3 separate regions of the Homo sapiens genome follow, and regions 2 and 3 are each linked to region 1. Evidence: promoter capture Hi-C in human tissues and cell types (Jung and others, 2019). All regions are on one chromosome and are shown on one strand. The core of a region is centred on a gene start or on the middle of the fragment in contact, and the rest is flanking DNA. Distances in the headings are between cores, read along the strand shown.

The links. The method cuts DNA at HindIII sites, captures the fragments that hold promoters and counts their contacts. A contact is called where the count stands out against the background at its distance.
Region 2: the fragment with the promoter of ADIPOQ here is called in contact with the fragment with the promoter of AHSG in region 1 in 1 of the 25 tissues and cell types used here (stomach).
Region 3: a fragment that was not itself captured here is called in contact with the fragment with the promoter of AHSG in region 1 in 2 of the 25 tissues and cell types used here (aorta and hippocampus).

Annotation. Positions count from the first base shown.
Region 1 is chr3:186,610,574-186,614,839 of GRCh38, reverse strand. AHSG (alpha 2-HS glycoprotein) reads right to left here and starts at 1,780. Exons shown (of 7, transcript NM_001622.4): 1 at 1,486-1,780. The coding sequence starts at 1,698. The HindIII fragment of the contact is 10,895 bases long and covers 1-4,266 here.
Region 2 is chr3:186,840,811-186,845,076 of GRCh38, reverse strand. It overlaps ADIPOQ (adiponectin, C1Q and collagen domain containing), which reads right to left and starts at 2,367. Exons shown (of 3, transcript NM_004797.4): 1 at 2,328-2,367. RefSeq lists an enhancer at 1-2,327, a cis regulatory region at 2,916-2,943 and a promoter at 2,345-3,043. The HindIII fragment of the contact is 4,509 bases long and covers 246-4,266 here.
Region 3 is chr3:186,786,202-186,790,467 of GRCh38, reverse strand. EIF4A2 (eukaryotic translation initiation factor 4A2) reads right to left here. Exons shown (of 11, transcript NM_001967.4): 6 at 4,195-4,266; 7 at 3,823-3,966; 8 at 3,204-3,341; 9 at 2,884-2,973; 10 at 2,586-2,665; 11 at 571-1,343. The coding sequence ends at 1,199. RFC4 (replication factor C subunit 4) reads left to right here. Exons shown (of 11, transcript NM_002916.5): 9 at 62-142; 10 at 213-326; 11 at 404-568. The coding sequence ends at 499. It overlaps SNORA63B (small nucleolar RNA, H/ACA box 63B), which reads right to left and starts at 4,145; the gene lies at 4,021-4,145. It overlaps MIR1248 (microRNA 1248), which reads right to left and starts at 3,796; the gene lies at 3,691-3,796. It also overlaps SNORA81, SNORA63 and SNORA4. The HindIII fragment of the contact is 9,961 bases long and covers 1-4,266 here.

The sequences.
Region 1 (4,266 bases), core at 531-3,030:
TGGTTCTGCCTGATTCACTAGTACCTGAAGCCTCAGCATCCCCTCCCCTGGGAGAAGCTCCGCATTTTATGATGTCCAGGTGTGCCCAGAGTGACTGCCTGAAAGCGTTCACAGCTCTGGCGAACAGGAACCGGGTACACCTGGGTTTCTCAAGGGAACCAACTCTGAAGCTCTGCCTTTAGTAAAAGTCACAATGCCCATTCATGATTACCTTTTCCCTCAGATGTGCGTGTTGCGTGTTCATTTCCCCTGACTTGATCAGCGTTTCCTCCTAACCACCACTGTGCTTTAATATGGCTGCAGCACTCTTAAAATCCATCCGGAGCAATCCTGATTTCAAATATTTTGTCTCTTTGTGAGACGGATGGCAGTCGTCAGTCGGTCCAGGCTTCCTGTTGTTGACCTTATTTTCCAACCTAGATTGTAAGCTCTTGTGGGCACATATTGTGCCTTTTTCACCACTGTATTAGGTTGAACCATTAAAACGGCCAATATTTGGTTGCTTTTGATATAGAAAAATGGCAGTTTTATATGGTTCAACCTAATATCTCTGGTTCTTGTCCAAGGAAGGCTTGTAATACATATTTGCTGAAAGAATTGTCCTTAATCAGAAATAAATCTAATTTCAAAACAGGCAGTAGGCAGACAGCTTCTTTCCACCTCTCCAAATCTCTTGACTGATCCCCGAGGCATATTTCCAGCTTGATTTTTCTTGTCACTGGCTTCAAGCTGCGTTGGTTTCCTGTCTAGTGTGTGAGGAGGTGAATTGTGTTTATGCCAAGACTTCTCTCTGGGATGTGGGTAACTCTCTTTGGGAGGCAGTTTGTGTAGAAGAAGGAACACAGATATGGAATCAAATCCCAGCCTGAAGACTTAGTAATTATATGATTTTGGACCAAAAAAAAAAAGACAAAAACAAAAAACAAAAAAACTGCACACACACACACAACAGAGCCTTGGTCTCCTCTTGGGTAAGACAAGAACAATATATGTACCACACAGCACCAGGAGGCAGGACCGGGAAAGAGTAAATGAGATAATCTATGTGAATGGGCCTGGCATATAGTAGGCATCTGCCAGATGCTAGTTTTATTCATTCTCAGTCTTTGTTAGAGAGAAACCAAACCAAAGACAGATACGTGATTTTCAGCCAGTGGTAACTTGGCAACTAGGAGCTGGTCTCTTGGGTCCTAGTTTTTCCAGCAAGTTACACTTTCTGTCTGTGATCTGCACACTACCATTTGAAGCACTTTTTCTCCTGCACACCACCTCACACCCCACCCAGCTCCCTCCTGACACCCATGACTGCCATACAGAATGTCTCCTCTCCTGCCCTCTGCCTGCCCCTTCCCTCACTCCTGGGAAGAAATCAGAGAATTTACTCCTCTGTGGTTTCATTTGCACTGGGTGATGGTGATTTTTTGAGGCACCTGATTGAGCTCCATGTACACATTATTTCAGCTCATAGACAGCAGGTCCACTTACCTGAGGCCACACCTTTACTTCATCAATCTGGTTCAAGGTGTGTTTGTATCCCCAAGGAAGGTTTTGATTGATGTAGTCTATAGCCACCAGAGCTGCTTCCTCAGTTTCTGGATCATCGCAGTTCGGTTGTCTATAAATCAGCCCTGGGCCATGTGGGGCTGAGTGGCAGCCCCAGAGCTGAGCAAGACAAAGGAGCAGGACGAGGGACTTCATGGCTGCCCCAGAGAGGCCCTGGCAGGCGTGCAGGTGGTTGGAGGCTTCGGGACCAACCCAGGTGCTCTGCTGGGAAAGGTAGACCCATGGAGGGTGGTGGGCTTTATTTATCTGTTGGAGCCTGCCGGAAGAATTGCATAAGGATACAGGATGATTTCTGCTTTGGTTCAAAAGAAAAAAAAAAACACCCTGCAAACATCAGCCCTGGAAAAGCAAACAGGTTAGGACATCGCTGGTCCCCAAGAAATCTGCCAAAGTCCATGCTGCTGTGGGGGAGATGCTCCAAAGTCTGCTTGGAACATGGTAATAGCAGCAAAGAGAAGACAGCTGAGGGAATGAGGTGGACACAGTCAGCCTCAGAGTGCCATGGGTTTGGCAGCAGAGGAAATGTCTTCTACTGTGATCTGAGCATGCCATGGGGTCTGTGAGAGGGAAGGGAGGATACTCAGCAATTTGATAAAATTCTCCAATGTCAGGGGGAGTTAGCTTTCCAAGAGGAGTCCTACAGGGAGAACAAGGCCCACAGATATAGCAAAGGTACAGATGTGTATAGGAGATGCCAAGATTTTGGGGGAAGATTCTTGGAGAAAAGAAAAAGGATGAGAGATGTTTCTGCCTAAAGTGGGGAATGGAGGTGGAAGAAGGGGGTTCCCGTGGCAGGACCACGGTGGGAAATGACCAGCAAAACGTGTGGGGTTCCCTGCCCCTTCTCTTCCTTCTCCAGACCTCACTGCCAGGGCCCTGCATGTGACAGCACAGATGGGCACTGACCAGAGTCTCCTAGCACTAGTAACCTAGTGCCCCTGCCAGTGCACAAGGGCAGCAGAGGGGAGTCCTGACTCATTTGACACAGCTCTGGGTTCGAGTCTGACACCGCAGGCTGAGATGCTGCACGAGCAGCTACGGACACAAATACCCCTTGAACATTCTTTGCAGACTCAGCAGAATTACAGTGTGTCTTTCTGGCCAGAACAGAGGGCCAGTGTTGACTCCAGGCACTGCCTATTAAGTGACCCTTGACAATTCCAAGTGTGACATCCAAGGAGGGTTGGCAGGATAAAGAGAGGCTTGGGAAATATCACACAAGGACCTGGTTTGGTTTAGTCTGAAGCAAAGAAGCCCTCTCATGGAGACCAACATGGTCTTCAAATATTTAGAGGCCATCATTGTGTGTGGGTGAATTTGTTCTAATGTTTGATATTGCTTCAGAGAAAAAAAAACTGGTTAAAAAAAAAAGAAAGAAGAGGGGCCCCTCCAAAGGGAAGCTTAATATTGATTTTCTGGGGTGAGAATCGGGGTGAGGGAGGTGAAGTGAGTGGTGATGGGGCAGAGAAGGTAGTTGGCAGGACTGTTCTCACATTTACTCCCAGCTGCTCACACACCACACCGAATCTTAATGTCAGAAGCTCAGAAGGTGTGGCCAGGACTCCAGGTTCTCTCCAAGAGGGGGACCATGATTCTTCCAGATGAAAAACAAACTCTGGTCATCCAGCAAGATGATCCTCAAAGCCAGGGGCAATCTTCCATCACCTTATACTCCATTTCACTCAGGGCCCTGACTCCTGAACTGTGTGTGGAAGCTATGCTTTTCTTTATATAATCTTTAAAAATATTGAAGGGCTGGGCACGGTGGTTCACACCTGTAATTCCAGCACTTTGGGAGGCTGAGGTGGGCAGATCACGAGGCCTAGAGATTGAGCCCAACCTGACCAACACAGTGAAACCCTGTCTCTTCTAAAAATACAAAAATTAGCTGGGCGTGGTGGCGCGCGCCTGTAGTCCCACCTACTCGGGAGGCCGAGACAGGAGAATCACTTGAACCCAGGAGGTGGAGGTTGCAGTGAGCCAAGATTGCGCCACTGCACTCCAGCCTGGCAACGGAGTGGGACTCCGACTCAAAAAAAAGAAAAATTGAATAAAGTGTGGTAAGGTGGCACACACCTGTAATCCCAACTATGAAGGCAGGATGATAGCATAAGACCTGGAGTAGGCTATGGTTGCAGTGAGCTATGATAGTGCCACTGCACTCCAGCCCAGCCAACAGAATGAGACTCTGTCTCAAAAAAGAAATCATTCACAATCTCATCATGCAGAGATAAACAGTGTTAATGTTTTGATGCATTTATATCTTTTCTTTTTTTCTATGTAAAATAATATTTTAATATAATTTTGATTATACTGCATATACAGCTGTTAAAATTTTTTCACCTATTGCTTTAACTTGAATATTTTCCTATGTCATTAAGTAGACTTAAAAACATGTTTACAGGCCAGGCACGGTGGCTTACACCTGTAATCCCAGCACTTTGGGAGGCCAAGGCAGGTGGATCATGAGGTCAACAGATAGAGAGCATCCTGGCCAACATGGTGAAACCCCATCTCTACTAAAAATACAAAAAATTGGCTGGGCGTGGTGCTGGACGCCTGTAATCTCAGCTACTTGGGAGGCTGAGGCAGGAGAATCACTTGAACCTGGGAGGCAGAGGTTGCAGTGAGGGGAGATTGTGCCACTGCACTCCAGCTTGGGCAACAGAGTGAGACTCTGTCTCAAAACAAAAAACAAAAAAA
Region 2 (4,266 bases), core at 1,118-3,617, 230 kb before region 1:
CGCGCGCACACACACACTCACACACATACATACTGTCAAGGAACTAATAAAACAGAGCATCCCACGCACCACCACATTTTTAGGATAAGTCTCTCTCCACATGATTGAATTTCTGATTGAAATTCCTGATTGAAAGTATCTCTCCAAAAGACATCACCTCTTGACTTTAGCCGTATGTCTGGGACCACCGGTCCACTGGCTTGACAAGGAGTAGGTGGAAAGTTTGTCCCTACAGCCACCTTAAAAAGAGCAAGCATATAATCCCAGCCTTTTGGGAGGCTGAGGTGGGAGGACTGCTGAGCCCAGGAGTTTGAGGCCCCCCAGCCAATATAGTGAGACCTCATCTCTACAAAAAATTTTTAAAAATTAGCCAGGCATGGTTGCACACACCTGTAGTCCCAGCTACTCAGGAGGCTAAGATGGGAGGGTCACTTGAGCCTGGGAAATCGAGGCTGCAGTGAGCTGTGATTGCACCACTGCACTCCAGCCTGGGTGATAGAGTGAGACCCTGTCCCCAAAAAAGACAAGGAGCCAGTCTTGTGTCTATTTTTTTTTTTTTTTTTTTGAGATGGAGTTTTGCTTTTTTTGCCCAGGCTGGAGTGCAATGCTGTGATCTCAGCTTAAGACTCCTCGGCCAGGCGCAGTGGCTCACACCTGTAATACCAGCACTTTGGGAGGCCGAGGCAGGTGGAATATGAGGTCAAGAGATCGAGACCATCCTGGCCAATATGGTGAACCCCATCTCTACTAAAAATATAAAAATTAGCTGGGCGTGGTGGCGCATGCCTGTAGTCTCAGCTACTTGGGAGACTGAGGCAGGAGAATCGCTTGAACCTGGGAGGCGGAGGTTGCAGTGAGCTGAGATTGTGCCAAAAAAAGACTCCTCAAGACTTAAGGAAGAGTGGCAGCAGGGACTGCTGAGGAAGCTGCCGGGCTCCCTGTGTACCACTGGCCTTCATGAACAAAGCTGACACCATCATGCTCCTTCGGACATATTCTGCTAGCATAAAGGGACCCCCATCTCCCCAACCGAATTAGGCAGAGCTGGCCTTCCTTCTAGCGGAGTTCCTAGGAGTGAGTTGGTGCCACCCCTTGTGAGGCTTGATCCAAAAACCAGAACCTCTCCAGACCAGGGATCCATGTCCTCTAACACAAGAGGGGCAGACCTAACCTCTAAAATCCCTCCCACTCTAACCTTCAGCATCCACAGCTCAAAACAACCAGGATGCCTCAGAAACAGCACTCACTGGGGCGAGCAGGATTAGGCTTCAGAAAAACCAGGTAGATCCAGTTTCTTCTGTCAGAAAATGTTTTTTTTTAATTACAATTTTTCATAAGTTGCCACTATATGCCAGGCTTTTCTCATTTTATCTCATTAGAGCCTCTTTTTCTTTTCTTTCTTTTTTTTTTTTTTTTGACACAAAGTCTCGCTCTGTCACCCAGGCTGGAATGCAGTGGCAACAATCTCGGCTCACTGCAACCTCTGCCTCCCAGGTTCAGACAATTCTCCTGCCTCAGCCTCCCGAGAAGCTGGGATTACAGGCACCTGCCATCACGCCCAACTAATTTTTGTATTTTTGGTAGAGGCGGGGTTTCACCATGTTGGTCAGGCTAGTCTGGAACTCCTGACCTCAGGTGATCCACCCGCCTCGGTCTCCCAAATTGCTGGGATTACAGGTGTGAGCCACCATGGCTGGCCTCATTAGAACCTCTTGATTACCTTGTAAGATATCCCTATACCTACATATATCCCCAAATCCATAGACAACAACCATGTCACACTCATTGTATCTTGTGAACCCAATCCACTGTCTAGCCCATAGAATTTGCTCAGTAAATATTTGCTGAGTAGAATAAAGTGGCAGAGCTGGATTCCTAATTCCAGTCTGAAGTCAGTGCTCAGCTTGACTTTTCTGAAGCTGCCTTCATATATGCTTCTTCCTTTGCCCTACCTGGTCAAGCTAAGAGGCAATGTATTCCCTTATCCCCCTTAATCGAATTGGACTTCATCTGTGGACAGACCCTTCCACCTTACTGACCCTAACTTTTTCTCAATAGGTATCCTGCTACAGAGCGAACTGGGCAAAATTCAGAATGGTTCCATGCATCTTAGAAGGAATGTCTGAAATAACCCTTTCTCTCTTGGGGCTGTGGGAGAACGGAGGAAGAAGCCCAGTGCATATCTGCCTCCACCAGTGCTGCTCTGACCAGAGTATCCACCTGTATCCACTCCCACACTACTACGGACGGGAGAGCCTGGGTGATCCCAGCCAGAGGCTATGCATGCATCCCCCACCCAGCCTGGAACTTCACAGAATTGCTCTTACCCTCTGGTATGGAATCAGAACCACAGACTGCAGTCAGAATGGAAGTGAGGAGGAGATGGCCCAGCCTCAACAGCCTGGTACTCACGGGGGCAGGCAGTCCCCACCTCACAATTGTCATTTCCCATTGGCCAACTCAGTGAGGGCCAGAGGCCGGTGGGCAGGCACATGTCCCTGGCAGTTGCCCACAGCCTGCACCCTAGGGAACCTGGTACAACCCAGCTTGGGCTTCGGAAGCCAAGTGGAGCTTCAGTCAAAGCACTTGTGTTTCCAGGCCTTGACCCTTATTTTGCCTCCTACAACAGCAACAGAAGATGGGGCAAAAGTCAAAACCACAGCAGGAAAACAAGATTTTTTTCCTGCATCTGACGGAGAAACTTCCTAATGTAAATGAATTAATTGCTCAGTGGTCCAGGAGGTCTCCCCCTCCCATAGATTTGCCCTAATAAGTCAGGGACGCCAATTATCACACCACAGTCTTGCTCACTGTGCATGATTAAGTCTGAGACTGTGTACGTTCAGACAGTGAGTGCTTCAGAAGGGAGCACTGTCAGAGGGGTCTGCAATCAGGTAAGAAATAGAGCACATCCTCCACTCTCTGACCTGGACCCTGGATTTAGGAAAGACCTTGCACATGAATTCTGAGAACTGGGGTGTGGGGAAGTTCCTGGAGTGGTGTGGGGCTTGGCAAGTTAAAAAGGCCCTGAATTCTTAAAGCTTGTGGCCTCGAATCGTAATTTGAATCTAATATAATAGAAAACTTACATAAAATGTGATATTGGAATACCATCTTTCAAGATTTTTTGGTTCCAAAATTTCGGATAACATTTTGACAGCTACCTTGGTATGTGTGTGTGTGTGTTTGTGAGAGAGAGAGAGCCTGTTTTTCCAGTTCCTTAAGCATATATATGCCTATTCTGTCTCTTGTGGAACCCAGCTCTGGCCTAGAAGCAGCCTGGAGAACTGGAAGCTGCCACCCACTTAGGTGTTCCTAGAAAGTTTAGGCTTGAAGTGGCAACATTCAACACCTTGGACTTTCTTGGCACGCTCATGTTTTGTTTTTGAAGGGCAGGATCTGAGCCGGTTCTTGCAAGCCACACATTCTGATGAATTAAATTACGACCCCAGCAAGGGCTTAGGATGCCAGCACCAACTTCAACAAGACATCCAAAACAGAATTTTCTCAGACAGAGGCAGGGCAAGTGTCTGCCTGCCCCCCAGATATCATCTCCACAGTCCACACAGAGCCTAAAAATCTACCAGTAAAGTCAAGTCCACCATTAAAGTAAAGATCTGATGTAAAGCCTCAGCTTCCTGCTAATGTCCAAATATTTCAAGAGAAGTCACATTAGGCCGTTGAGATGAGAGACATGAGAGACTTTCCAAGGTCCCCCGGCTTAAATAAGTGGCCCATGAAAATGAGGTTCCATATAGTTTAGCAGGCTGATTGAACCAAGAAGACAACAAAAAGAAATAGAAGCAACTCTCAATTATATCACTGTTTGATTTTTGTTATGGTGTTTTCCTATTTATTTTTGGTTTATGTTACTGTCTGTTGCTATTTAATAGAACATAAACTTCAGGTCAGGTGCAGTGGCTCAGGCCTGTAATCCCAGTACTTTGGAAGGCCAAGACAGGCATATCACCTGAGATCAGGAGTTTGAGACCAGTCTGGCCAACATGGTGAAACCCCATCTCTACTAAAAATGCAGAAATAGCCGGGCGTGGTGGCACATACCTGTAGTCCCAGCTACTTGGGAGGCTGAGACAAGAGAATCACTTGAACCCAGGAGGTGGAGGTTGCAGTGAGCCAAGAGCACCATTGCGCTCTAGCCTGGGTGACAAGAGTGAAACTCTGTCTCAAAAAAAAAAAAAAAAGTAAACTTCAGGAGAGCAGAGATTTTGCCTATTCAAAGTTGTATCCCTTAGTTCCTAGAATAGA
Region 3 (4,266 bases), core at 1-2,500, 180 kb before region 1:
GCAGAGTGTATGTCTAGTCTCACCTAGAAACATCTTTAATACCGAACATTCAATTACCTAGGTAATACCAGCTGAGAAAATTGATGGAGTATTTGCTGCCTGTCAGAGTGGCTCTTTTGACAAACTAGAAGCTGTGGTCAAGGTAAAGTCAGCTTACTAACTTTGGGGAAAGGAATATTAAGTCATCATACCAAAAGTTTTTTTTATTATAGGATTTAATAGATGAGGGTCATGCAGCAACTCAGCTCGTCAATCAACTCCATGATGTGGTTGTAGAAAATAACTTATCTGATAAACAGAAGTCTATTATCACAGAAAAACTTGCCGTAAGTAGGTACTTTGCACATGTCAATGGAACATTTAACTACCTGAAGGATGCTAATTTCTTAAATTTTTCTCGTAGGAAGTTGACAAATGCCTAGCAGATGGTGCTGATGAACATTTGCAACTCATCAGCCTTTGTGCAACTGTGATGCAGCAGTTATCTCAGAATTGTTAACGTGAATATATCTGGATGGGGGGTTTTGTAAATAATGAAGTTGTAATAAAAATAAAATGACCAAAAGCACCTTTAAAGTGAATATACAATTTATTTAACATTCAAACTTCATTAAGACATGTGCAATATGGCAATTTTACTGGGGATTAAACCCTACCTAGGATTGCTTGCTGGGGCTTAGCAACAGGGTCCAGTTCACACTTAGCACTAATTAAATACTTTATTGAATAAATACAATACCAAACAAAATGCATTCAAATGCTTTCTAAAAAAATTTTAAAGGCCTTTCTACTCAGGCTAATGACAAACACAATAAAGGCAGATATGCTAGTTTAACATAATTGGCTGATTTTATACAGCACTTATATCTTTTAGTCCACAAGTATATTATTAAATGATAGAGAACATCTAATACAACCATTTCTACAGAACTAGGAAATAAATTTCTAAGAAAGAAAGATTTTACAGACCCCATCTTTTATACCCACCCCAACAGTCTAACTCTAAAGAGGATAAAGCCAATGACTTTCCTCACAAGAGCTCACGACTAACGTCGCTTTGCTATCAAAATCTGTATTTCTGATCCGTTATGAGCATTGAGACAAGATTCAAATATTCCCAAAGAAAGAAGCACAATGCACGTTGTGATCGCCTATTCAGCAACAGCGAGCACTGCATCCAAAACTCTCATCCCAGGAATTAAATAAGGTCAGCCACATTCATGGGCATCTCCTCCACTGTAGTATTGTAGAAAGTCTCAATGTCACGAAGAATCCTCTTGTCTTCTTCAGTAACAAAGTTTATAGCCACACCTTTCCTCCCAAATCGACCCCCTCTGCCAATTCTGTGTAAGAAAAAGAATCAGAACGTTACTTCTCACATAATGTATAAACTACTGAACATGACGATCCACTTGTTAACCACCAGCTGCTGTTTACTTATCAAGGTTATAGTTCGTGCTTCTAACTGGAGCACTAGCTGCTAATGCATATCTAGAGAAAAAAATCTTCCTTTGCAGTTAGTGCCAAAAGGATTCAAGGCTTGTCTGGCTGCAAAATGAGATTTTTATCAGGCATCTTGAGCATTATTATAAAGCAGATGACAGTATCGTGTTTGGGGTAGTGAAATTAAAGCCCATACCAAAGTGGGCCAGCCAAGAGCAGGTGTCAGCCTGGGACAGATGTGAACACCAGGAATAAAAGAGCAGTTATGTAATCCATTTCGACGCACTTCTGGAACTGTAAACTGTAAACAAATGCTGCAAAGGTTAACTATTTTCTAAAACTTACTTTTTTCCAGTGGGAAAACAAATATTTGGTATGGTAACCCAAACTTATCACTGCTTTTTTGCTCAGTTTCACACGTTGTAACTCAAATTACTCTAAACGTGTTTAACTGCCAAACAGCTACCTGCATGTTAGAAACCAGACAATACAAACCACCTAATAAGAAAGGTTCCCTAATAGAAATACTAATACAAAAAAATGCCTTAGCTGGAGCAACTTAAAAATCAAATAATCATGACAAAAGAAAAACAAATATAAATACCGACTCGCTCTTTATTCAAACAGTGTGCTGTTTCGCTTATGATTCCACGTCCTAAATTACGTCAACGCCGTTTCTGAGTGCCATCTCGTCACCAACTGCTGCTATCGACTCCTGTATTTTTTAAAAAGTCTTTTTTTACATCATATAACAAAGTACAATTCAATTTATTTAGGGATAAAGCCACTATAACTAAACCAGGGTTCACTCAAATTGCTACCAGGCGACACCAAGAAAATCCCAACTATAGAAAAAATCACCAAGAAAAACACATGGACACAAGAACATCACTAAAAGCTCAAGCATAAGGTAAGACCAACAATTGTGGAAAAAAACCCTATGTCCACAATCTGGGCAATGTTTACAAGTTTTCCCACTTTGTTCTCATCAACCTTCCCTAGTACAAATTTAATTACATCATCTTACTGAACACTACTGACTTTACTGAATCTATTCCTTGATTTGATGTTACCTTTCATACAAATCACAGTAGAAAAACGTATGAATTTTTTTCAATACAGCCAAGATGCTGGCTTCTCACCTGTGAATATAGTTTTCACGATTGGTAGGTAGATCATAATTTATAACCAAAGACACTTGTTGCACATCAATCCCGCGAGCCTGAAACACAATGGCATGTTTTAAAAATTGATTCAAAAAAACTTGACACCTGTCATGTAGGCCACAAAATAGTAGCGAACTATACTAAGTGGTATAGCCCACTGTGGAGTGTGGTCTTTTACTCTTCCAAATAGCCCAAGTTGGCAAAGGTTACTTAAAAACCTGCCCCCCAAAAAGCTAACTTTTGGTAGATTTTTAAAAAGCATTAAGAGACTTACCAACAAGTCAGTAGTGATCAGAACACGACTTGACCCTGACCGGAATTCCCTCATGATAACATCTCTCTCCTTCTGGTCCATGTCACCATGCTGCAAATTAATAAACCTTAATTCAAGAATCACCAGTCAGGTCGGTATTTAATTTTAATCAACATGTATGAGACCAAGCGTCCCTGGCTGCTACAGGAGAATAGCAGACAGGTATAGTTAAGAAACAACTTTATTTTAAGCAGGGGGAACGACAACACAGCACTTAGCAGCTATATTGTAGTCTGAATCCTGCTTTAGTGGAAATCCAGACATTTTAGAACACCTCTTACCAGAGCAGAAACTGTGAAGTCTCTGGCATGCATCTTCTCAGTCAGCCAGTCCACCTTGCGCCTCGTATTGAGAAAAATAACAGCCTGTGTAATGGTCAGTGTCTCGTACAAGTCACAAAGTGTATCCAACTTCCATTCCTGTAATGTTTAGAAGTTAAAGTTAACAGTCATTTAGTTTTTCCAACTCTTCAGTTAAAAATTCATTCTGGGCCAGCCACAGTGCTAATGCCTGTAATCCCAGCCCTTTGGGATCCTAGCACTTAGAGCCCAGAGTTCCAACCAGACCAGGGTTTCAAGAAAGTGAAACTGTCTCTACCCAAAATACCAAAATTGGCCAGTCTTAGCCAGTCTCATAACCCAGTCTCAAAACGTAGAAATTATAAAAATTAACTTCATTCTGTTAGGTCTAATGAGATATTGCACCAAATCTTAAGACAAAGGACATTGGACATTAAGAAAGAGGTCCACCCCAGTCTTTACAATCTAGTGCTGTTACTTTTCTTCTTGTGTGTACTCTGCTAGCATTATTGCAAAAACCAAGACATGGTCCTAGTGTCTGCAATTTTAGCACAGTGCTTATACAAGAAGGTAAAATAATGTCTAACAATCAGACAGTTACCTCTCTCTCAACATTAATATAAAACTGTTTGATTCCTTCAAGGGTCAATTCTTCCTTTTTCACCAGAATTCGAATTGGATCTCTCATGAATTTTTTGGTCACTTCCAACACATCAGTTGGCATTGTGGCAGAAAGCAACACAACCTTAAAAAGAGAAAATTATGTTGTAGCACAACTTACACATTAATACCCAAAGGAAAATGTCTGAAGCCAAGCGTCTCTGTCTTACTACGGAATGAAGGTAGACAGAGTTATGCATCAAGTGCTTTAAGCAGGGGGAACGACAACAAAACACATCAGTTGTATTGTAACAGTACCTGCATTAAATAAACCCCATCTCTACCTTTAAGAGGGGGGTGAAGTAATGCTTACCTGAATACTTGTGTTTAGTTTTTGGAAAATCTCATAGATTTGATCCTTAAAACCACGGCTCAACATTTCATC